Linked DNA regions of Homo sapiens: all the other regions are linked to region 1. The links are contacts of gene promoters, found by promoter capture Hi-C in human tissues and cell types (Jung and others, 2019). All regions are on one chromosome and are shown on one strand. The core of a region is centred on a gene start or on the middle of the fragment in contact, and the rest is flanking DNA. Distances in the headings are between cores, read along the strand shown. Region 1 holds the start of HMBS (hydroxymethylbilane synthase). Region 2 overlaps LOC105369519 (a long non-coding RNA gene). Region 3 overlaps DDX6 (DEAD-box helicase 6). Region 4 holds the start of PHLDB1 (pleckstrin homology like domain family B member 1).

Region 1 (6,202 bases), core at 1,457-3,956:
ACTGAGCTCCAGGAGCAGCCTGGACCAAGACCCCCAAAACAGCTCTTACTCTTTCCTCTTCCTGGTCTCTATGGCTGTAGTTTGGGCAAAATATTCAAGCAGGAGGCAGATTCTGGTAGGGAGCTTTGGGCTTAACCTACCTTAAATAATGGGTAGGTTGGTGTCTTGCTATACTTAATACCAGATGATAAACGGGATAAAAGGTCCTTTCTGGAAACACCTTTCCCTCTCTGAAATTGTCAGCTAAAGTTTATGTTGCTAGGTGTCCCCGTGTAATTTGGGTGGTGCTGCCTGTCTGAAAATTGCTCCTATGTTGTCGTTTTCCCCACAGCCTCACCTAATTTCATCTTCTACGTTGTTTAATTGGAGGACGTAAGTTTGACACTGTGGTTTAGGTAGTATTTAGGATTGCCATGGGCTGGGCGCGGTGGTTCATGCCTGTAATCCCAACACTTTGCGGGGCTGAGGTGAGAGGATCGCTTGAGTCCAGGAGTTCAAGACCAGCCACCCAGGCAACATAGTGAGACCCCGTCTGTGCAAGAAATAAAAATAAACTAGCCCAGCCTGGTGGCGCTTGCCTGTGGTCCCAGCTACTCAGGAGGCTGAGGTGGGAGGATTGCTTGAGCCCAGGAAGTTGAGGCTGCAGTGAGCCTTGATCACACCACTGCACTCCAGCCTGGGTGACAGACACCCTGTCTCAAAAAGTAAAAAATTAAAAAACAGTGGCAGTATTGTAGCTGCTATGCTATGAGTAGACTTTGCATCTACTGAGCTGGGTTTGAATCCTAGTTGTGCTGTTTGACTTAAGGCACATCTTACCTTCTCAACATGTTTTTTTTTTTTTTTTGAGATGTATTTTTTTCAGTGGGTTTTTGGGGAACAGTTGGTATTTGGCTATGTGAATAAGTTCTTTAGTAGTGATTTCTGAGATTTGGTGCCCATCACCCAAGCAGTGTACACTGTACCCAATGTGTAGTCTCTTATCCCTCACCCTGCTCCCACCCTTTCCCCCTCAACCTGTGTCTTCATCTGTACGTTAGGGATTATAACACCTATGCTGTGTGGCTATTATGAAAGCCTAAGGATCAAATAGGTGTTCAGTTCTTTGTACAGTGCTGAGCACATGGGTGATTTTTTTTTTCTTCTTAAGACAGGGTCTCACCGGGCGCGGTGGCTCATGCTTGTATTCCCAGCACTCTGGGAGGCTGAGGTGGGCGGATCACCTGAGGTCAGGAGTTCAAGACCAGCCTGACCAACATGGTGAAACTCCGTCTCTACTAAAAATACAAAAACCAGCTGGGTGTGGTGGGAGGTGCCTGTAATCCTAGCTACTCAGGAGGGTGAGGCAGGAGAATTGCTTGAACCCGGGAGGTGGAGGTTGCGGTGAGCTGAGATTGCACCATTGCACTCCAGCCTGGGCAACAAGAGTGAAACTCCATCTCAAAAAAAAAAAAAAAAAAAAATGGGCGTCTCACTCTGTCATCCAGGCTAGAGTGCAGTGGCACCACCACAGCTCACAGCTACCTCGACCTCCTGGGCTCAAGCGATCCTCACACCTCAGCCTCCTGAATAGCTGGGACTACAGGTGTGTGCCGCCACACCTGGCTATTTTTGTATTTTTTGTGGAGATGAGGTTTTCACCATGTTGCCCAGGGTGGTCTCAAACTCCTGGGCTCAAGCAATCCTCCTGCCTTGGCTTCCTAAAGTGCTGGGAATATAGGTGTGAGCCACTGCACCTAGCTGGGTGATTATTAATAATCATGATTGTTAATTATGTTCATGATTACAGGCGCGGTGGCTCACGCCTGTACTCCCAGCACTTTGGGAGGCCGAGGTGGGCGAATCACCTGAGGTCAGGAGTTCAAGACCTGCCTGACTAACATGGAGAAACCTCATCTCTACCAAAAATACAAAATTAGCTGGGTGTGGTGGTGCGTGCCTGTAATCCCAGCTACTCGGGGGGCTGAGGCAGGAGAATTGCTTGAACCCGGGAGGCGGAGGTTGCAGTGAGCTGAGATCGTGCCATTGCATTCCAGCCTGGGCAACAAGAGCGAAACTCCGTCTCAAAAAAAAAAAAAAAATTATGTTCATGGGAAAGCACTTTTCCTAACAAGCCCTTTTCTCACTACATGTAGCGTTTGTGCTCCCACTTCAGTTACTTGTCTTTAGGCATGACCTTTAATCTCTCTGAACCAGTTTCCTCATTTTAAGAATTGAAATGCTGGCTGGGCCAGTGGCTCACGCCTGTAATCCCAGCACTTTGGGAGGCCAAGGCGAGATGACTGCTTGAGTCCAGGAGTTCGAGACTAGCCTGGGCAACATAGTGAGGCCACCTCCCCGCTGTCTCTATAAAAAAATCTAGAAATTAGTCCCACGTGGTGATGTGCGCCTGTAGTCCCAGCTGCTTGGGAGGCTGAGGTGGGGGGATCGCTGAAGCCGGGAGGTCAAGGCTGCAGTGACCCGTGGTCATGCCGCTGCACTCTAGTCTGGGGACACAGTGAGACCCCGTATCAAAAAGAAAAATGCTGCCTATTTCAAGGTTGTAGCAAAGCTAAGTTTGAACAGAGCAAAGGAAGCGCCATAGAAGCTGCACTACTTGCTCATGTCACAGCTGGGGAATGGGGTGGTCGAATGGGGAGGTCCACTGTCGCAATGTTCCAATTCCCGCCCAGAGGGAGGGACCTCCCCTTCGAGGGAGGGCGCCGGAAGTGACGCGAGGCTCTGCGGAGACCAGGAGTCAGACTGTAGGACGACCTCGGGTCCCACGTGTCCCCGGTACTCGCCGGCCGGAGCCCCCGGCTTCCCGGGGCCGGGGGACCTTAGCGGCACCCACACACAGCCTACTTTCCAAGCGGAGCCATGTCTGGTAACGGCAATGCGGCTGCAACGGCGGTGAGTGCTGAGCCGGTGACCAGCACACTTTGGGCTTCTGGACGAGCCGTGCAGCGATTGGCCCCAGGTTGCCATCCTCAGTCGTCTATTGGTCAGAACGGCTATCTTTTTTTTTTTTTTTTTTTTTTTTTTTTTGGTCCGAGTAGCTTTTAAAGGGCCAGTAGCTCGGTTGCCCTCCGGAAGGAATGGGGAAATCAGAGAGCGGTGATACTGGGTTAAGAGTGGAAGGATTGTTTGGAACGGAACTCCGGTCCCTGCGGGCATCTGGGTGGGATTCCCATCAGGCCTGGGATGCACGGCTCTAGATTTAGTGACCCAGACCAAGAACGTTCGTCTACACAGACGGGGTCCTTTCATTCGAGGCTGGGCTGAGGCGGATGCAGATACGGCCCCTTTGGGAAGACACGTTCCACTTTTGATTCATAGGAGAGAGTATCAGCCAAGCCTCCGAACTGCACACAAACGTCTTAGAAGTGCGCCTTCTTTTTGTGTTATAGTGGTCTCCCAGCCACAGCCAACGCTCCAAGTCCCCAGCTGTGACACACCTACTGAATTACTACCGTGGGTGGGAGGCCGCCGTGGGCCTTTCCATTACGAGCCTGCTTGCCGAGCCCTGGGCTTGTGCACAGACAAACTGCAGAGCTGGTGGAGGCCACTGCCAGGCCGAGATAAGAAAGAGATGGGGAGCTGCTAATCTCCCCCTGTCCAGCCTGTTGGTGAGGGCTGGGATCTTTGCTCTTGCAGTCATTCCAGAGCCCTGGACTAGGAGTAGGAAGATCTGAATTGTGGCCCCAACTCTCTTTCGGTTATTAGCTCTGTGACCCTAGGCAAGTCACCTCATCCCTTGATGCCACCCGTTGCTTCTGTAACATGGTCCCAAAGGTGCCTGTCTTGTCCACCTGATAGGATTTTTGAGACGACAACAATATGCAAAAGCAATAGCTTCAACATAGAAGTGCTCAGTGTTTTATTTTTTAATGAAACGGTTTGACTTGGATATGCTGTGCACATTCAATGAACTTAAGGAATTGTTTGAACCTAGTAGTTCTGGGACCTTAGAGTCCTTTCTGTGGGCTCCCTGTGGCCCAGAATTTTGGTGGCCACGTTTAATATCAAGCCTAGCCTAATTTGCAAAGGGTCTCCCAGGGTTAATTTATTGGAGTGATCACATGGAGTAGACCAGAGTCTGAGGGCAGAAAGCTGTCACCTGCTTCGGCAATAGAGGCCCCAGATGTCTGGGTGCAAAAGAACTCCATAGCACCCCGACCAACATGGTGAAACCCCGTCTCTACTAAAAATATAAAAATTAGGCCGGGCACAGTGGCTCATGCCTGTAATCCTAGCACTTTGGGAGGCCGAGGCAGGTGGATTGCCTGAGCTCAGGAGTTCGAGACCAGCCTAGGGAACACAGTGAAACCCCGTTTCTACTAAAAATACAAAAAATTAGCCGACGTGGTGGCATGCGCCTGTAGTCCCAGCTACTTGGGAGGCTAAGACAGGAGAATCGCTTGAACCTGGGAGGTGGAGGTTGCACTGAGCCGAGACCGCGCCATTGCACTCCAGCCTGGGTGACAGAGCGCGACTCCCCCTCAAAAAAAGAAAAAAAAAAAAAATATATATATATATATACACACACACACATATTTTAGCTGGGCATGGTGGTGTGCGTCTGTAGTAGTCCCAGCTACTTGGGAGGCTGAGTCAGGAGAATCGCTTGAACCTGGAAGGCAGTGGTTGTAGTTAGCTGAGAACATGCCACTGCACTCCAGCCTGGGCAACAGAGGGAGACTCTGTCTCAAAAAAAAAAAAAAAAGGAACTACATAGGATGAACATCCCAGATCAGGGAATGTTGACTGTCGACAGTATCAGTATCTACAGTGGCTACTGTCTGATGTAGAAAGAAATGGGATCAGGCTAGGCGTGGTGGCTCACGCCTGTAATCCCAGCACTTTGGGAGGCTGGGGCAGGAGGATCACAAGTTCGAGACCAGCCTGGCCAACACAGTGAAACCCCGTCTCTACTAAAAATGTGAAAATTAGCTGGGCATGGTGGAACATGCCTGTAGTTCCAGCTTGAACCCAGGGGTGGAGGTTGTAGTGAGCCTAGATCACGCCACTGCACTCCAGCCTGAGCAAAACAGTGAGACTCTGTCTAAAAAAAAAAAAAAAAAAAGAGAGAAATGGGACCTCCGTCTTAGACTGAAGAATTCAGTTCTACGTGCTTAGCAGTGAATACTTTTGTCCAAGGTACTCTGGCAGGAGGAAGAGGCGTGTCCTCTTGAGTTCTTGACTTGGGCTCTGGCCTGTTAATATTTCCATGTTGGTGAAACCAGAGGCAGCACTCTAGGTGCACGAACTTTAGGCAGCGCAGCCTCCTAGTCTTATGGAACATCTGAGGCAGAAGAAACCTGAGTCCAACCTTTTCATTTTATAGATGAACAAACAGATCCTGGTGGGACAGTGTACCCAAGGTCACCCAGCCAAGAGGCTGAGCAGGACTGTACGTCAGATCCGTTTACCTCAGTCCTTAATGCATGCAGTCCAGCCAGATTAAGGGACCCTTAATACTGTCAGCTTTCCCCACTGTGGGATCTTCATCCTCTTGACTTCTTTTGTAGCCAGACATCTGGGCCTCTTGCTGGAGAAGGTGGCAGCTTGCTGCTCTTAGACTCTAGTCTACTCCATGTGGCATCTGGATGGCACTGAAATTTTCTCAAGTGCCTTGTCTGTTGTAGATAATGAATCTATCCTCCAGTGACTCAGCACAGGTTCCCCAGTGTGGTCCTGGCTGCCCTGCCCCTGCCAGCTGCAGGCCCCACCCTTCCTGTGGCCAGGCTGATGGGCCTTATCTCTTTACCCACCTGGCTGTGCACAGCACTCCCACTGACAACTGCCTTGGTCAAGGTGGGCTTCAGGGCTCAGTGTCCTGGTTACTGCAGCGGCAGCAACAGCAGGTCCTACTATCGCCTCCCTCTAGTCTCTGCTTCTCTGGATCCCTGAGGAGGGCAGAAGGTACTGAGGAAGGTTAAAGGGACCAGCCTTGGAGTATTTCCCCACTCTGAGACTCAGCTGGCCACAGGCCAGGTTCTGAAGTTCCTTTCTTCCAAGCCAGTGATTCTGGTTCTTGGACAAGGTGTTGAGGAACACTAGAAACAGAGGGGACTGTGACCTGGGGACTTTTTCTGCAGGAAGAAAACAGCCCAAAGATGAGAGTGATTCGCGTGGGTACCCGCAAGAGCCAGGTGGGTGCAGGAGCCGGGGTGGAGGAGGTTTGTCAGAACAGTTATGATGCTCACAGCATCACAAATTG
Region 2 (6,508 bases), core at 2,349-4,848, 380 kb before region 1:
AGCGACAGGGTCTCACTATGTTTCCCAGGCTGGTTTTGAACTCCTGACTTCAAGCGATCCTCCCGCATGAGCCACCATGCCTGGCCTAAGCTTACATTTTAGTTAGAGAAAGAGCCTGGGAATGAAGCTAGCATGGAGAAGAGCAGAGCTGAGATTTAAAGGGAGCAGATCCTGAAGCCTGGTTGAAAGCTGCATCGTTTCCCACCTGAATTCAACCACATTCATTTTCAGTAACACGAGCAGTAACTGCTTCTTGTTGTTTAAGCCAATTTAAATATATTTCTATGTCAATTACAAATGAAAGGGTATTAACTGTTAGGTGCCCAGCCTCAGCCTAATCTAGATGTTCTTTCTCTGCAACTTTGTATCTTCACTTAATTAGTTTACTTGAAAATTAATTAAATTAGGCCTGGTGCAGTGGCTCATGCTTGTAATCCCAGCACTTTGGGAGGCCGCGGCGGGCGGATCATGAGGTCAGGAGATCCAGACCATCCTGGCTAACATGGTGAAAACACGTCTCTACTAAAAATACAAAAAATTAGCCCGGTGTGGTGGCATGCGCCTGTAGTCCCAGCTACTGGAGAGGCTGAGGCAGGAGAAGCACTTGAGCCCAGGAGGCAGAGGTTGTGGTGAGCCGAGATCTCGCCACTGCACTCCAGCCTGGCGACAGAGCAATACTCCATCTCAAAAAATAAATAAATAAAATAAATAAATAAAAAAAAACACTGACACAGTGGGGATGAAGTTTCAATGTAAATTGCAGAGAGGACAACATTCAAACCATGGTACCTAGTCATAGTATTTTACTCTTTTCTTATGCTTTTAATTCCTGAAGTATCTAGACTTTCTAATCCTATTTTATAATACCTTTGTAGTCCTTATATAACATCTGTGTTTTGGTATTTGTTTCAGGTTTTTTCCTAAGTATGTGTCAAGATCCCATTTTCCAAGTCAAAAATGGGATTTTGCTACACATTATTTCATAACCTGCTCTTTGTTTTTCACATGATAAGGAACTTAAAACAACACACATCTTTTTCTGAGGGCAGAAATTTGGGCCCAGCTCACCTAGGTTCTCCGCTTCAGAGCTTTACCAGGCTGCTGTCCGGGTGCTGGCTGGGGCTATGGTCTCATCTGAGGCTCAGCTGGTCTCATCTAAGGCTTAATATTGGCCCCCAAGCTCCCTCAGACTGTTGGCAGAATTCTTCTCCTTATGGTTGTAAGACTAGAACTGGGGTTCATGTTTTCTTGTTGGCTGTCAGCCAGGGATGGCCCTTAGCAACTAGAGACTACAGTAGTTCCTTGTTGAGTGGCCCTGTCACCACAGAGAAGCTTACTTCTTCAAAGCCAGTAATAGACGGAGAGTCTCTGACCCTCTGAGAGGGCCCAGACACTCTTTCAAAGACTTCCACCTGATTTAGTCAGGCCCACCCATGAAAATGCCCCCTTGACTTCAAAATCAACTGACTTAGGACCCTAATTATGTCTGCAAAACCCCCTCACCTTTTTCACAGTCTATTAGCTGGAAGTAAGTTGCAGGTCCTACCGGCGCTCCAGGGGAGGAGGTTACACAGGGTGTGAACACCAGGGAGTGGGACCACAGGGCCCATCCCTGGGTCTATTCATACCATGTTTACCTTTCCATGTCAGTATCTTTTCTTTTCTTGGTTTTTTTTTTTTTTTTTTTTTTTCAGATGGAGTCTCACTTTGCTGGCCCAGGCTGGAGTGCCGTGGCCCCATCCTGGCTCACTGCAACCTCTGCCTCCCAGGTTCAAGTGATTCTCCTGCCTCAGCCTCCTGAGTAGCTGGGACTACAGGCATGTACCACCACACCTGGCTAATTTTTGTATTTTTAATAGAGATGGGGTTTCGCCACGTTGGCCAGGCTGGTCTTGAACTCCTGACCTGCAGGTGATACTGCCCGCCTAGGCCTCCCAAAGTGCTGGGATTTACAGGCACGAGCCACCGTGCACGGCTGTTATTATGTTTTCTACCACCTTCTAATGTTAATGGCCTCACAGCATTCTACTATGTGGATGTGTCAACATTTATTTAATTATTTATCACTAAGCACTGAATAAACATAAACATTTTAGTTTATTCCTTTTTTTCTTACAGACAGCGCTGGGGAGAATGAACGCCTGAGTACTCATGTCTTTATGCACTGTAGTATTATTTCCTTACAACAGACTCCTGAACCTGGAACGGCAGTGTCAAAGGGTTCACAAAATGTTAGACTTCTGAAGCAAATCAGATGGCACCTTTTTTGAATAATGAAGAATCTTTACCCCTGGCATGAGGAGCTGAGGACAACTCCCACTCCACGATGTGAAGCCACAGAGTTTCGAGGTAGTGGTTAATGGTGGTTGTGATTTTTTTGTTTTTGTTTTTGAGACAGAGTCTCTGTCACCCAGGCTGGGAGTGCAGTGGCACAATCTTGGCTCACCACAACCTCTGCCTCCCAGGTTCAAGCGATTCTCCTGCCTCAGCCTCCTGAGTAGCTGGGACAGGTGCCCGCCACCATGCCTGGCTAATTTTTGTATCTTTAGTAGAGACGAGGTTTCACCATGTTTGCCAGGCTGGTCTCGAACTCCTGACCTCAGGTGATCCACCCGCCTTGGCCTCCCAAAGTGCTGGAATTACAGGCGTTGAGCCACCACGCCCAGCTGGTTGTGATGTTCTAATTTGGACTTGGAAGTCAAATAATCGCCCCATGCCCTGTGGTTGCTGTGGTTGCATGCCCTGCCCCGGTGGAAGCTGGGGAAGTGTTTCCTGTCTGTCATCCCACCCATTCACGTGTCCTTATTATGGGTGAAGCCCAGAGAGCGAGAGCTCTCATTGTGGCCAAGGCTGCAGCCTTGCCACTGTCACGGAGCACAGCTCACGTCTCCTCTGAGCCGTTATTTTGTTTGTATGAACCCAGAATGTATGTAAATTCTGATGGGGTAAGCGGGCAGACAAAAAGGTCACTGAAGTGTCCCAAACAGAATCTCATTGTGTACTGGAGAGGAGGCAAAATAATCACTTGCCAGAGGGCGGAGCTTGGTTTTGTGGGACCTGAAGCTTAAATAATTTGGGGAGGCCTCTTTAAGAAAAAGAATCAAATTATGAATACAAAATTAGGATGAGGGTGTTTGAAGGGCCTCATGCAAGTGCGGTGCCTGGGACTTCAGCTTCATTAACTTCGCGTTCAGTCTACGCCTGCTTGCCAGTGGACTGGGTTTGTCCTGCTTGGAGTCTGGTTTTGTTTGTTTCCAAACTTATAAAATTAGATGTCTTTTCTTCTTTCCTTTTGCATTTGCAAGTGTATTAACATTTAAGAATTGAGCAGGCCTTCAATAATATAGCTTCTCTCTCTCTCTCTCTTTTTTTTTTTTTTTTTTTTTTTTTTTTGCTAAGATGACTCTAACCCCTCCCTGCTTCAAATCACGAACTTGCATTATAGGCACACAAAGGATGCTGACTCCCTCCAGCAGCCTCGTTTGCAGTACGGAGCCTGGGGCCCTTAATGGGATAACAGGGAAATGGGGAACTGGAAAGAATCTTCCAGCAGTTGAGTCTGTTTGCCCCAGGCACCATGTTAGATGATTACATTGTGTTCCTTCGCCCTTTTGCCAGGGTGACGGGCAGGCACTCCCAGGCTCTCCTCAAAACAGCTCCGATTTTAAGAGGGAAAAGCCAGGACACCACAAGTTGCAGTTCAAATATGAAACTGTTAGCAGAGTCATTTTGGCATAAAACCCACTGTATTAGTTGGTCTCCCACCAGGAAACAGATGGCATATTCAAAATAGGATCACTGGAGGAGAGTTTATTTGCAAAGATGTGGGTGTCGGGGAACCACAAAGGATGGCGCAGTAATCCAGAGTTTAGCAGCAGCCAGGCGGTGCCCTCACGAAGCTTGAAGGGATGAAGGGGAGAACAGTCCCTGGCACCCACAGGGAGAGAGCGGTGCTGCGAGGCCCCAGGAAGAGAAGATGTCATTGTCCCTTGAGGGATACAGCCAGCCAGGGAAATAAACACCCTGACCTCCCTCTCCTGTCTCCCTCTGGCCACCTGCCACGGGAGTTGGTGGATGTGGACCACACTGGTCAGCCTCAGAGGGCAGGGTGGAGATGGTGAGGGGGTGCATACGGAGGGGCAAACAAAAGGTAAATAGCCCAGCCCAGCCCTTTGGCCTCTCAGCACCCGCTCTAGACTTTTGTCCAGGTGAAGAGCTTGTTCGCCTAACACAGGGGATCTATAAGTCGTAATAGCTACCATATCATTGTGGACTGATGTCAGCTGGTCATACTCTCAGCTGAAATCGCCGGTGTTCCTCAGTTAAGGTAATGAGTAAAACGGGGTGCAACGGAGTGAATTTTTTTTTTAAGATGTTTCTTGCTTTGTCCCCTAGGCTGGAGTGCACTGGCATGATCTCTGCTCACTGCAACTGCTGCCTCCCAGTCTCAAGTGACTCCTGCCTCAGCCTCCCAAGTATCTGAGGTTGCAAGTGCACACCCGGCTAATGTTTGTATTTTTAGCAGAGACAATGTTTTGCCATGTTGGCCAGACTAGTCTTGAACTGCTGATCTCAAAGTGTTGGGATTACAGGCGTAAGCCATGGTGCCCAACCCAACAGAGTGAATGTTTACGTCTCCTCGCAATTCCTGTGTTGAAATGCTGACCCTCAAGGGGATGGTGTGAGATGGGGCCTTTGGGAGGTGATTAGGGTACGAGGATGCGGTCCTCATGAGTGGGATCAGGTTCTTATAAAAGAGGCCCTAGAGGAATCCTTTGTGCCTTCTGACATGTGAGGCCACATGAAGAAGATGCTGGTTATGAGCCATGAAGCAAGCCTTCACCAGACGCCAAATCCGCTGGCTCCTCGATCCCCTCGATCTGAGGCTTCTCAGCCTCCAGAACGGTGGGAAATAAATTTCTGTGATTTATGCTACACCCAGTCTATAGTATTCTGTTACAGTAACCCAGATGGATTAAGATGGAGAATGGATTGAGATGGGGAAGAAAAAAAGCCCCAAATTCATGAAATGTAGCTGCTACAGTCCCCACCTCCTTAGCTGTCCCCAAAACCTAAGCAGGTAATCATAACTTCCATTCTGTGCTCACCTTACCTCTGCTGGCACCTTTTTGGACAGGGTTCTCTACTTGGCGAGGTGACCCAAATCTTCATTCCTGCAGGGTCTGAGTCCTCGGCCGCTGCGATCGTTTGAACATTGTTTGTCCCCACCGAAACTCATCTTGAGGCTTGGTCCCCACTGTAATGATGTTGAGAGGTGGCGGGACATTTAAGGGGTGTTTGAGTCATGAGGGATCCAGCTTCACGAAGGGATTAGCGCAGGAGTGCGTGAGTTCTTCTTGTGGGACTCGATTGATTACTGCAGTTGCCAGTTGTTACAAAGCAAGGCTGCCTCTGGCCGCGTGCCCTCTTCTGCTTCCTATTTTCTCCCATGCTAGAAGCAGCACAAGGCCCTCACCAAATGTGGCCATCCATTTTGGACTTCTCAGCCTCCAGAAGCGTGGGCTAAGTAAGCCCCTTTCCTTTGTAATTTACCCAGTTGGACTAAGACAGGTGTTTTGTTATAGCAATGGAAAACAGACTAAGACAGTTGCATTGTATTTGGGGGTGGCCACAGTTTTCCATTGACTAGGACTGTTGGACTAGGAGTGCTCCAGTGATGTCTCTGATTTCAGACACTGTCTTCCTCGCCCCTTTTCAACAGCAGCAATCCAGTTTCATCCTGTGATCAGGGTCCATCCTCTACCTACTACCATAACCCCTCTCTTTGCTTCTTGGTCTATGGCATGCAGAGCCCCAAATGAGCAGGGAGTAGCTTCAACTTCCGATTCATCAGAAGCATGACTGTTTCCTCTAACAGCATTTCTTTTCTAGGCCCCAGGACCTCCAGCGTCAATGTTGTGGGATGATGGGTGACAGAGCCAAAGCATCGCCATCTTGGACAAGCACGGTCATTCTGAAGTTCCCCTTGATCAAAAACTGCCTAAACCCAAAGGATATCAGCCTGATGGCTAAGGTCAGCATGACCATAAACCATAAATAACATCTCTGACCAGGAACATTCCAAACCCCTCCATGAGACATGCCAGCCCTGAGATAACCTCCCCTCCGGCCAGAAAGATGTCAGACCCAAGATAACCTCCCCTCCGACCAGAGACATCCCAACCCTGCCATAAACTTCTCCCCCACACAGAAACATTCTGAGCTTGTAATAAGCCCCCTCATCCTAAAACCAATATATACTCTTAGTCCGTAAGAGAAAGTGCTCCTGAACAAAATTGGCCAGAAGCCCCTCTCCGGCTTATTTTCTCTAAAATACATCTGTCGTTAAATTGAGCCACAGTTCGTGTTTCTTCCCTCTTTCTTTAACTCTTACAATGGGAAGCAAACTTTTTTAGTGGGTTATTAGGAATAATAGTGAAAAGCATAATTCTCCTCTCCAGGCCTTGCTTCCTGGACCCACACATCTCACCTGTGGGGAAGATGGAAC
Region 3 (6,633 bases), core at 2,102-4,601, 320 kb before region 1:
AAACACTATGAATTATTTTTTAATCTTTTTTTTTTTCTTCCCAAGACGGAGTCTTGCTCTGTCGCCCAGAGCTGGAGTGCAATGGTGCAATCTCAGCTCACTGCAGCCTCCGCCTCCTGGGTTCAAGCAATTCTCCTGCCTCGGCCTCCCAAGTAGCTGGGATTATGGGCACACGCCACCATGCCCAATTTTTTTGTATTTTGTAGTAGAGATGGGGTTTCACCATGTTGGCCAGGCTGGTCTCAAACTCCTGACCTCGTGATCTGCCTGCCTCAGCCTCCAAAGTGCTGGGAGGCATGAGCCACCGTGCCAAGCCAGAAACACTACGAACTTTTATACAGTGAAGACGGTGGGAAAATTGATGAAATCATCTGTTTTACTGGGACTCGAGAGATAATATTCAACAGCAGAAGCCTACTTCTTACCCTGGAGAAAAGTGTGTTGAGGCAGTGTACTTTTTGGCGCTCAGTTACATATGCGTAGTACTGGGTTACTCCCTTCAGAGTTAGTTCCTCCATCAGGTTAATCTCATAGGGTTTCTGCAAATGGGAATTCTGGGGGGGGAGCGGGAAAAAGATGAGTCGTCGTCTTAAATGAAAGCAGAGTTCATCTCAAATTCAAAATATACCCTATACGTTTCTGTCCGATAAACTCTTGCTGTAAGGGACGCAACTCTCTTCAAAACAAAATATATGATCTGTCATTACAGAATTTCCCCCCTGCCACCCTGAGACAAAATCTTGCTCTGTCACCCAGGCTGGAGTGTAGTGGCACGATCTCTGCTCCCTGCAACCTCCACCTCCCGGGTTCAAGTGATTCTCCTGCCTCGGCCTCCCGAGTAGCTGGGAATGCAGGCATGCACTGCCATAACAGACTAATTTTTGTATTTTTAGTAGAGACGGGGTTTCACCATGTTGCCCAGGCTGGTCTCGAACTCCTGACCTTGTGATCTGCCCGCCTCGGCCCCCCAAAGTGCTGGGATTACAGGCATGAGCCACCATGCCCGACCCGATAGAAATAAATTAAGATATAAGATCTCAAAAATGCAGCTAAGTTACTACAGGTTGAGTATTCCTTACCCAAAATGCTTAGGAACAGAAGTGTTTCAGGTTTTAAATTTTTTCTAATTTTGGAATATGTGCATTACACTTAGTGACTGAGCATCCTTAATTTGAAAATTCAAAATCCAAAGAACATTTCCTTTTAGCATCATGTTCGTGGCTCAAAAGGTTTCAAATTCTGCAGTATTTTGGATTTCAGTTTAGGATACTCAAGCTCTGTTTTGTATATAGAATAATACCGGAATCAATTCAGCTAGCACCAATGGCTATGTCATCATGACACCAAAAACTAAGTGAAAGATGAGGAATTTAATTAAGTTACTATTACAACCTTCTTAAAAAGTCAGTTAATTTACGTAAAACAAATCTTTAATTGATCAACTGAAGAAAGAGCCAAAGGCTTGAAATAATTAGCATAAAGTATATTCACAGATATGAAGATGTAATTACAAATAAAAGCATACTCAAAGGTCACAGGATGGCACTGATTCCAAGTACAGATTTATACTCACCATGAACTTCTGTACACTAAGAGGGAAAGTAGCGGAATATAGTAAAATCTGCCTGTTTTTAGGTAGCGTGAGAATAATATCCTCCATTATCTGCACAAAATCCTGTGACAGCAACTTATCTGCCTGCAGTAGAAAGAAAAGACAATTTTAAAAACAATAAAATAATGTCTAAGGTCTTGGTTAATACATGGTCAAAGAATAAGGCATCATCCAACAAAAGCATCCATGAAATGTTCCTGGTGGAAAACAATAAATTCTCTCCAACACTGCAGAGAGTCAAATATGCAGAAGGGGGCAAAATCTATAATCCCCATCTTCTAGGGGAAAAAAAAAATTCTACACTACACAGACAACCTCCCCCGCTTTCTGTAACAGAATTTAATTAATTTATTTATTTTTAGAGACAGCATTTCACTCTGTCACCCAGCTGGAGTGCAGTGGCATAATCGTATCTCACTGCAGCCTGAACTTCCTGGGCTCAAGTGATCCTCTTGCCTGAGCCTACTGAGTAGCTAGGACTACAGGCACATACCTCCATGCCCAGCTCCACAACAGAATTTTAATGTGATGATTCTCATTAAAGAGGTAGTATGGTGTAGTGTTTAAAAGTACGGGTTCTGGCCGGGCGCGGTGGCTCACGCCTGTAATCCCAGCACTTTGGGAGGCCGAGGCGGGAGAATCACGAGGTCAAGAGTTTGAGACCAGCCTGACCAACATGGTGAAACCCCATCTCTACTAAAAATACAAAAATTAGCTGGACGTGGTGGTACGCACCTATAATCCCAGGTACTCGGGAGGCTGGGGCAGGAGAATCGCTTGAACTTGGGAGGCGGACGCTGCAGTGAGCCAAGATCACACCACTGCACTCCAGCCTAGGCGACAGGGCGAGACTACTCCGTCTCAAAAAAAAAAAAAAAAAAAAAGTAAGGGTTCTGAGGCCGGGTGCAGTGGCTCACGCCTGTAATCCCAGCACTTTGGGAGGACCAGGCGGGCGGATCACCTGAGGTCAGGAGTTCAAGACAAGACTGGTTGATATGGTGAAACCCTGTCTCTACTAAAAATACAAAAATTAGCTGTGCACAGTGGCAAGCGCCTGTAATTCCAACTACTCAGGAGGCTGAGGCAGAAGAACTGCTTGAACCTGGGAGATGGAGGTTGCAGTTGAGCTGAGATCGCACCACTGCACTCCAGCCTGGGCAACAGAGCAAGACTCTGTCTCAAAAAAAAGTACAGGTTCTGGAGCTAAACTGCCAGGTTGAAATCTTGCCTCCTTCATTTCTCAGCTGTGTGGGAATGTTACAGAACTACTCTGTACTTCAGTTTCCACAACTCTAAAATTGTAAAACTATTAAAATTTGGATGTTTACATAATGTAGTAACTACTTTACCGGGATTTAGAAAAAACTTGGCTAAGGCCAGGTGTGGTGGCTCACGCCTGTAATCCCAGCACTCTGGGAGGCTTAGGTGGGCAGATCACTTGAGGTCGGGAGTTTGAGACCAGCCTGACCAACATGGAGAAACCCTGTCTCTGCTAAAAGTACAAAATTAGCCCGGCATGGTGGCACATGCCTGTAATCCCAGCTACTCGGGAGGGCTGAGGCAGGAGAATCGCTTGAACTTGGGAGGTGGAGGTTGCGGTGAGCTGAGATCGCACCACTGCACTCCAAGCGGGGCAACGAGACTCTGTCTCAAAAACAAAACAAAACAAAACAAAAAAGAAAAAACTTGACTTTCAAGTTATCCAGCCACTCCTCTTCTTAAAAATTAAACCTAAACTCTGGCATCTATAAGACAAAAAGCTGAATTCCTATGAATGCCTATCTATTGCATCTGAAGTATAAAACGTATTTTATAAGCAAATTAGAAGTTGGATGTCTACATACTATAGTAACTACTTGACAGGATACCTACCTTATAGGTTTCTTGTAAAAATTAAATGGAAAAAAAAAAAAAAAAACAAACCATGTAAAGCACTTAGTGCTGGTACCCAGTGATTAATAAATGTTCTCTCTCATTACTTAAAGATAAAAGTCTGATTTGAATTAAATCATGTTACCTAAAACACAAACCAGGCCGGGCGTGGTGGCTCATGCCTGTAATCCCAGCAATTTGGGAGGCTGAGGCAGTAGGATCACCTGAGGTCAGGAGTTCGAGACTAGCCTGGCCAACATTGCAAAACCGCGCCTCTACTAAAAATACAAGAATTAGCTGAGCGTGGGTGGTACATAATTGTAATCTCAGCTACTCAGAAGGCTGAGGCATAAGAATCACTTGAAGCGGGGAGGCAGAGGTTGTAGTGAGCCGAGATCACGCCACTGCACTCCAGTCTGGGTGACAGAGTGAGTCTGTCTCAAAAAAAAAAAAATAATAATAATAATAATAAACCTCAACCCAAATGTGAAAATAACCTCATGTCAAAACATTAACAACGCTGATCACTATAGATCCTCCTTGACTTACAATGGGATTATGTTCTGATAAATTCATCCTAAGTTGAAAATATTACCCAAACCTACTGAACATCATCGCTCAGCCTAGCCTCCTTTAAACATGCTCCACTTACCTTAGCTTACAGTTGGGCAAAATCACCTGCAACGCCGTATACTGTAGAGTATCGGCTGTCTGCCCTCAATCATCATGTGGCTGACTGGGAGCTGCAGTTTGCTGCTGATGCCCAGCATCATGGGAGTATCATATAGCATATTACTAACCAGGAAAAATATCAATCTTAAAAATTCAAAGTACAGTTTCTAATGAAAGCTTATCACTTCCACTGAAAAACTGTAAAGTGAACCATCTTAAGTCAGGGACCATCTGTACATGTACAAAACATGGCTAGATCCCAGGACTACAGATTTTAATAAGTTTTTAAAAGGCATTTATAACATGGTGAGATAATACATGTAACAGAGATTAAAAACCAAACAGTACAAAGTAGTATGCACAAAATGAGAAGAGACAATATATATTATATGCTTTTAAAAATTAATCACAGAGCAGAAAGAGACTTAGAATAAATTTGGCATTGAGGTTATTCACTCCTCTACTAAAAAATTAAAACCTAATGTCTGCTATCTCTAAGAAAAAGACAAAATGCTGAATTCCAATGAATGCCTATAATCTACTCCCTCTGACGGGTAAAACACATTTTATAAGCAAATTAATTTAAACTGATTGTTTATGTGTTTATTAGATCATAAACACAAGCAGCTTTTGCTTCATTCACTGGCAGTTATAAGCAAAGCACAGAAAAGTACAGAACAGTATAATGCCAAATGAAGAGACATTACCTCATCCAATACTATCATCTGGACATGATCAACCTTTGCTACTCCTTTCTTAATAAGATCCAGGATTCTCCCAGGGGTAGCAATCACCACGTGCACTATGCAAGATTTAGAAAACATACATTCTCATTAATTTTAATTTGAGCAAAGAGGATAAAGGTTTATAATATTACAGTCCTGAGCTGCTTAATGATAATTCTGAGAAATGCATTGCTATGTGATGGTATAGCCTACTCCATTGTATAGCTCCATTATAATCTTATGGGAACACCGACATACGTGCAGCCGTCACTGACCACAACATTGTATGCAGCACATGACTATCTTTTATTAGAAACAACTAGGCCGGGTGCAGTAGCTCATCCCTGTAATCCCAGTACTTTGGGAGGCCGAGGTGGGTGGATCACATGAGGTCAGGAGTTCGAGACCAGCCTGGCCAACACGGTGAAACCCTGTCTCTACTAAAAATACAAAAATTAGCTGGGTGTGGTGGTGGGAGCCTGTAATCCCAGCTACTCAGGAGGCTGAGGTAGGAGAATCGCTTGAACCCAGGAGGCAGACGTTGCAGTGAGCCGAGATCACACCACTGCACTCTAGCCAGAGCAACAGAGTAAGACTGTGTCTCAAATTAAAAAAAAAAAAAAAAAGAAAGAAAGAGAAGAAACACATTGTGTTATAGAGGTGGAAATAACACAAAAAGGCACAAAGATGTGTTTTAGGATAAAGACTTCCATTTCACCACAGGATGCTTAAAAAATATTTGTTTCACCTCTACATTGGGTGGGGTACAGCTTCCTAAATCACCTGCTGCTTTCAACAGTAGGCATACTTTCTTGTCTTAGGATAATTCTCAATTAATAGCAGAAGGCACACCAGACTTCTGACATAAGAGCAATGCCTCTAATCTAGAGCAGTGAGCCGAGTATTGTTAAAAGGATCAAACAAGATAATTTTTTAAAAACCTATGCAATACAAAGAATGTATCACATAATTATCATATATAATATTCTAACTAAAATCAAGATATAATTTTATATGAGTGATCTCATTCTTGCTGTTTTGTTACCTTTTTCCACTCGGCAATGTATCATGAAACCTCTTCATGAAAATGAATACAGGTCAACTTTACTCTTTAATGACTATGTAGAATCCTATTCAGATTATACCTTAACGTATTTAGTTAGCCAATCTCCTTCTAAGTTGGCCAATTTTTCGGCACGACAATACCACCCCATAGCAAACAACTTTGTACCTACAGCCCTGCATTTACCCAACTTTTTTCTTCAGGAAAGATTCTTAAAAATATACATTTATGGCCGGGCACGGTGGCTCACGCCTGTAATCCCAGCACTTTGGGAGGCTGAGGCAGGTGGATCACGAGGTCAGGAGATCGAGACCATCCTGGCTAATACGGTGAAACCCCGTCTCTACTAAAAACACAAAAATTTAGCCTGGCGTGGTAGCGGGAGCCTGTAATCCCAGCTATTCAGGAGACTGAGACAGGAGAATGGCCTGAACCTGGGAGGCGGAGATTGCAGTGAGTCAAGATTGCGCCTCTGCACTCCAGCCTGGGCAACAGAGCAAGACTCCATCTCCAAAAAAAAAAAAAATATACACACACACACACACATTATATATACATTTATAATTTTAAAATATACTCCCAAATTGCCCATGATAGAGATGTAAGTTTACACCCCCACATTTACAATGTAGCCTATTTGTCCACAAACTCACATTATCGTCTACTAATACTTTTAGCTTTACCAATTA
Region 4 (6,206 bases), core at 2,640-5,139, 480 kb before region 1:
GGTTCAAGTGATTCTCCTGCCTCAGCCTCCTGAGTAGCTGGGATTACAGGCATTCCACACCACCACCCCCGGCTAATTTTTGTATTTTTAGTAGAGACGGTTTCACCATGTTGGTCAGACTGGTCTCAAACTCCTGACCTCGTGATCCGCCCGCCTCAGCCTCCCAAAGTGCTGGGATTATAGGCCTGAGCCACCGCGCTCCGCCAGAGCTGCTTACTTTCTTATGCTTTTTTAAAATTTAACTTGGAAAAACTATTGGGTGTCAAAAAATTGGAAGGCAAATTATTCTCACTTATTAAGTATCTGGGATGAGAAATTTCTAATGTTGAAAGCCAAGATTCTGATTTTTTTTTTCTTGGTGAAAAAAAGTATCTGGTCTAATGTTGCTCAAGTGTGGCTTAGCTGTCTGAGACTGTAGCCTTAATCGAATGAAATGATTAAGGTCTGTCATTCCTTTACTCACCATAGCTTCAAATTTGTCAACCCATGCATCTCTGATGGGAAACTTTGCCCTCCAATTAATTTTTAAATTGTGAACAGTTTTAAAGTTGTTCACACTGGCTAGGGTCTGAGATTTCCAGGGTTGATATAGAATAGCTTTTTATTAAACTTCACATCTGACAGGGCTTATTGGAAGGAGACAGGAGAAAAATGGAAAAAGTCATCCTCAAGAAGATTAAAGTCTAACTGGAAGCAATGACTATCTGCTTGTGAAGCCTTTTTTTTTCCAAGTTAGACAAGTGTTAACTACAGCTAGTACTAAACATGGATCTATATGAGAGTAGGTAACATGGCTTCTGTCTTGTAGGCTCTAGAGGAATCTCAAGCAAAACCTCACAAATGATTTTCTTTTGCTATGCACATCTGTCTTATTACAACCCCCTTACCCCCAATTCCCTTGTCCTAGAAGATCCACAAGTAGGTTGGTTGCTGTGCATTGCTGTTACCCAAGGGCAGACAGCAACACTACAAATAGCTGCCTTAACGTCTTATCCTGGGGAGTTGGGGATTGATACGGAGGTAGGCCTTTAGAAAAATTAGACTATCTTTCCAAACCAGGCTGTTTTCCCTCTCACAATCACAAGTCAAGCTATTAGGCAGTTTTCAGAAGCTTGGACCACTTCTCCCATCCCCCACCGCAGTTTTTTTGCCCTGCTGTTCTTAGGGCAGGGGCTAAGTGGTTATTTAGGGTCTAAACCAATACTGGAAAGCTTCCCTAGGTTTACTCTGGGTGATCAGATTGATTACCAAACCAGGACAGGGGCTGTTTGAAAGAAGCATTAGAAATTCAAGACAATGAGAGAAATTGAAATAGGTCTTGTCTCCCATTCTTTTGCCCAAATGAATGCTTGTTCTTTTAGCTCATTAGGAAAGCCCTTAGCCTTGGAGGTACACAAGACCAGTCTTCTGTCCTACCCAAATTTCCCACTTAGCTTGGATGCATGTTAGCTTTGGGTCGAAGCAGACTATGCAATTTCTAAGACAGCTGAAAAGAGAGCTTTGAACTTTTCCCCAAGTTGCTGCAGGGTCATTGCTACCACCACGCCTACACCAATGATGCCTGACTTCAGGATCCAGAGGCCAGAAACGGACAGCTTTCTGGAAGAGGGTGTGTATCTACAAGGATTGCTTGCTGTATGAGCAATAATCACCTCTCTGGGGCTAGAGGGAGTACAATTTGAGAGGTGGGACAAAGTGGGGAATGTGCCAAGGCAAAAGCAGGAGTATGGAAATTCACTCCTGACACTTGTAGCCAATGCAAAGGGCCTTAGAAAAATCCACTCTTCCTTCCACACCCAGGCTTTGCCCTCTCCCCCTGCTTCCACTTCGGAAAGTCTGAAGCAGGCCTGGAAAGCTGTTTTCTGCTTTCTTTCCCTCTCTTCCTCCCCCTTTCCTGAGCTCCCAGCTGCTCGACCTCTTGCGTAACTGTGAGAGAGCGCTGAGTTTTTTGATGGGCTCCAGATGTGGAGCAGGGCGGAGATGGAGAGTGGGGGCGGTAGGTCTTTAGTCCCCTGAGTGCTCTAACTGTGGGAACATAGAGGCCTGACACAGCAGGGGAGAGGACACATTGCACAGCGCCTTTATCATAGGGTCAGCTGGTCCCTGTGTTGGGAGGTCAGTGAGAGAAGTTGGGTGCTGTTTCGACCCTCTGCCTCAGCATCCACTGCCTCCATGGCAGGCTTGATTATTCCCTGAAATTCCTCCTGCCCAGTACAGTAAAGAGGAGCTGGGGGCCGTGAAACAGAATGAAGTGAAAAGCCTCTGAGGTACTGCAATCTGGACCCCTCCCCTCAGTGCTGGGTCTTGGCACATGGGATACAACAGTTTGGGTTTTTTCCTTCTTCCTTTTTTTACATACCCAAATAGCCTGAATATTACTGTTGTGATCTGCCTCATGAAGGTTCATCAGAATTACTTTCATGACTTCAAACAGTATGAAGAGAGGAAAAACTAGAGTCTCGCTCCTCAAATCCTAGGACTTCCTGGTACCCACAGCATATTCTGGATCTTGAGTGTTCCACCTCCATTAGCTATAGCAGGTGGCAGCAAAGGGCGGCCTCTCCCCTCCCCCTCCTTGTCTGCTGCTTGGCCCCGGTCAGCTTCAGTCTCCAGCCGTGGGGGGTCCCCTGCTAAGGCCAGCCCTGTCAATGAGTGACCAGAGATTCCTGTAGTTCAGCCTCCTGCTGTTCCTGGGTTAGGGAGAGACGGCACAAACTAAACTCATTGAATTAGAACAGCACTTGTCCATCTCAAAGAGGATAAATTATTTTTTGCTATCCACCCCAGCTGGAATTTAGACCAGACTTACAGGCTTTCTGCTCCTTCCTTCAGTGAAGAAGAGTCTCCAGGGTCCCTCTAGTGCAGGTCAAAGAAGTCCAGTCCAGCTGAGTTCAGCTCCCTAGGGCCTCCCCAGCCAGTCTCCTGGACCAAGAGCTGGCTTTGCAAGGTAAGGATCCACTGTCAGCGTTGGATTTCGGAGTGGAGGTTGAGATGGAGAATGACTTCAACCTAGCTCAATTTGGGGGCTGCTTTTAGGTGTTTAGTGCCTCCTTCTCTTCCTTATTAACTCCCACTCCTACTACAGGTTGGTGTGCTCAATTGTATGTCTATAGCCTGCCTCCATCTCCCAATCTGTAATCCAGCAAGTCTGTCGGGGTGGAGGGGTGTGGAGCTCCATGGGGGCAAGATGATAATTCCATTCGGTTTTCCTGTGCTTTGGAGTTTGCATGACACTTTAACGAGTCTTCTTGTGCCTATCCTTAAGAAAGTCTGTGAAGCCTGATGTGCGTGGCTATCAATGTCATTTACAGCTCTTCATGGTGGGGCTTGGAATAGGGCGAGGGGAGGAGGTGACAGGGAGAAGACCTGGGTACCCTCAGTAGATGTTCTGGAGATGTTGAGAGCATGTTGTAGGGGCTTCGATTTGGGAGGTTCAGTGGGAGCCCGTGGAGGTTTCAGGCATCTAAGGCAAAAAGAAAGAGGGGAGAGTTTGGGGGAGGGAGAACGGATTGTCAAAAACACCCTCTCAAAAGCGTGTTAAAGCCTGGGAGTGGAGGGTGGTCTAGGAGAGTCGGGAGGGCAGGGTGGGAGGAGAGGGGGATGTGTGGTGGTGGTGGTGGTGGTGGTGGTGGTGGTGGTGGTGGTGGTGGTGGTGGTGGTGATGGTGGAGAGCCCAGCTGCAAAGATGAACAAAGCGGGCGCTGTGCAGGCTGGGGGAGGTGCTGCTGTGGGAAAGGGTGGGTGGGGGGACCTTGGGCTCCAGCCCCACAAGGGCGTCTTCTTTGGCTGGCCAGGCGGACGGGACGGGGGACGGGGGCGGGGACTGGCGGGAGGGGGGCGGGACAGGCTCGCTCTCCTCCTACTTAGCGAGCTCCCGGGGAAAAGCAACGGTGTCCTCCTAAGCCTGAGGCCACCGCGACCGAGCCGAGCCAGGCTAAGGGACCAGTGTCTCCCTGCCCCCCCCCCACCTCTAGGTAAGAGCGCCCCGTCCCACTACACTTGCGGGTCCCATTCGCTGCGGTGCTAGGACTGGATAAGGGGAAGTCCCCGGGGCCTGGCGAGAGCCCTGAGATCAGCTCTAGGCTAGGGAGCTCGGCAGAAACCCGTGGGGGAGAGAGGGCACCCCAGGTGAGTGCGTGGGGGCGAAAGGAGCGTTATGGGGAGTTTTCCTGTGAGCCTCTTGCTTTTGCCTTCCTCGGCCGCTGCCAACGCCACCGCCAGAGGGGGCCGTGACGCTCTCCCCCCCTTGGAGAAACTCTGATCCTGGCCCTATCCAGACTCTCCCGCCGGCACCCAGGCGGCCGGGCGGACACTCGCGGGGTATCGGGCGGCGAGCGCGCGCGCGGGTTTTCGTCCTCCAGCGCCCCACACCTCCCCCTCTCCGCCCACAGCAGGACCTTGGGGCGGGGGTATCTCCTGTGACGTCTCCCCGCCTGTCCCCAGGCCGGCCGCCTTGATGGACCAGGAAGGGATTCGGAGTCCGGCTCAGAGTCTTGAGCGTCTAGGAGGGCTGCCTGGGGGTGTCCAGGAGATGGGAAGCCCGCCTGGGGCCTCCCAGGCACTCCCCAAGGCCCCACGTCCTCGGGGGCCGGGGAGGCCGCCTGGGGCGCCTTGCCACGCCCGCGCGGTCCCTATTGGAATCCCTAGCGGAGTTCCCCGAGCGGAGGCTGACCCAAGTCATCCGGGCTCCCCCGGGATAGGGAAGTGCGGGCGGGCGGCTGGGTAGGGGCGCCGGCGCAGGGTGGCCGAGTCGCCCGCTAGCGCTTCCGCCGAGGCAGGCTCGAGTGGGGACTTGGCCGGGCGACCGCACAGCCCTGCCGGGGACCCACGGCTCTGGGGCGGGGCTGCATTCTGGGCCGTTAGCTCAGCGGTCCTGGAGCCTCCCGAGGCTGACTCATCGGGCGGCGGGCTCACCCCCCAGCCGTCAAACGCAAACGCAGGCGCCCCACCACGCCGGGCTCCCACGCGGCACACACGCACGCCTCCGCGACACTTCGCACACCTACGTCCCTGCGTCACGCCACCCAGACACACCCGGACCCGCCCACACGCCGAGGCCTTCCCACGCACTCCATGCCTTACGCCTCACAGGAAAGCGCCCCGCGCTCACGCAGCCCCTCACACCCGCAGCCCCGCTTACACGCGCCCCAGCTCACACATGCACCCCAGTCACACAGCCTACCTCACACACGCACCCCAGTCACACACACAACCCAGCTCACACACGTACCCGTCACACATGAGGCCCCAGCTCACACACGAAGCCCAGCTCACACACGCAGCCCCAGCTCTCACACACACACCCCAGTCAAACACGAGGCCCCAGCTCACACACGAAGCCCAGCTCACACACACTGCCCCAGTTACACAGCCCAGCTCATGCAAGCAGCCCGTCACACACACAGCCCAGCTCACACACACAGCCCAGCTCACACAAGCAGCCCGTCACACACACAGCCCAGCTCACACACACAGCCCCAGTTATACACACACAGCCCAGCTCACACACGCAGCCCGTCACACACACAGCTCAGCTCAATACACAGCCCAGCTCACACACACAGCCCCAGTTACACACACAGCCCAGCTTACACACACAGCCCAGCTCACACACACAGCCCATCACACACACAGCCTATCACACACACAGCTCAGCTCAATACACAGCCCAGCTGACACACGCAGCCCAGCTCACACATACACTCCAGCTCACACACGCAGCCCGTCACACAGCCCCAGCCACACACACAGCCCAGCTCACACACGCAGCCCAGCTCACACATGCAGCCCCCTCACACATGCAGCCCCAGTCACACACACAGCCCAGCTCACACCGCAGCCCCAGCTCACACACGCGGCCCCTCACACACATTCAGCCGCCCTTCCCGCAGCTGCCAGGCTCGGAACGGGCGGTGTCTGTGGGGGCCGCCCCGTTTCCCGGCCGCGCAAACAAGCGGCTCCTTCTCTCTGCCCCGCCAAAGAAAGGCCGCTTGTCAGGGGCGGGCGGGCAGGCGGCAGCGGCAGGCGCCCAACACTGCGGCCTTGTCCCACGCGGGCAGCCTGGGCAGGAGCAGGCCGAGGGGTGCAAGGGGCCGCTACCTTGCGGAAACCTCCCTCCCTCGGCCCTGCGGACCGCGGAGAGGCACCTTTCCACCACCGGACACCCAAGCAACAGCCCTCGCTCCATCCGCGCTCTCCCGGCTCCC

The links. The method cuts DNA at HindIII sites, captures the fragments that hold promoters and counts their contacts. A contact is called where the count stands out against the background at its distance.
Region 2: a fragment that was not itself captured here is called in contact with the fragment with the promoter of HMBS in region 1 in 1 of the 25 tissues and cell types used here (dorsolateral prefrontal cortex).
Region 3: a contact is called between a fragment that was not itself captured here and the fragment with the promoter of HMBS in region 1, in 1 of the 25 tissues and cell types used here (spleen).
Region 4: the fragment with the promoter of PHLDB1 here is called in contact with the fragment with the promoter of HMBS in region 1 in 1 of the 25 tissues and cell types used here (stomach).

Annotation. Positions count from the first base shown.
Region 1 is chr11:119,082,175-119,088,376 of GRCh38, forward strand. HMBS (hydroxymethylbilane synthase) reads left to right here and starts at 2,707. Exons shown (of 14, transcript NM_000190.4): 1 at 2,707-2,892; 2 at 6,081-6,134. The coding sequence starts at 2,860. RefSeq lists enhancers at 2,308-3,005, 2,935-2,984. The HindIII fragment of the contact is 11,043 bases long and covers 1-3,226 here.
Region 2 is chr11:118,702,490-118,708,997 of GRCh38, forward strand. LOC105369519 (a long non-coding RNA gene) reads left to right here. Exons shown (of 4, transcript XR_007062909.1): 3 at 2,119-2,349; 4 at 5,893-6,354. Among named protein-coding and RNA genes, the nearest start is that of TREH, 26 kb to the left of the region's middle. RefSeq lists an enhancer at 2,225-2,726. The HindIII fragment of the contact is 5,774 bases long and covers 712-6,485 here.
Region 3 is chr11:118,758,349-118,764,981 of GRCh38, forward strand. DDX6 (DEAD-box helicase 6) reads right to left here. Exons shown (of 14, transcript NM_004397.6): 7 at 4,864-4,958; 8 at 1,574-1,696; 9 at 426-554. Among named protein-coding and RNA genes, the nearest start is that of DDX6, 29 kb to the right of the region's middle. The HindIII fragment of the contact is 8,956 bases long and covers 1-6,633 here.
Region 4 is chr11:118,603,726-118,609,931 of GRCh38, forward strand. It overlaps PHLDB1 (pleckstrin homology like domain family B member 1), which reads left to right and starts at 3,890. Exons shown (of 23, transcript NM_001144758.3): 1 at 3,890-3,974. LOC124902765 (a long non-coding RNA gene) reads right to left here and starts at 4,786. Exons shown (of 2, transcript XR_007062908.1): 1 at 4,398-4,786; 2 at 1-3,463. RefSeq lists a cis regulatory region at 927-1,122, silencers at 4,382-4,471, 4,532-4,601 and enhancers at 4,729-5,023, 5,061-5,735, 5,736-6,206. The HindIII fragment of the contact is 15,479 bases long and covers 1-6,206 here.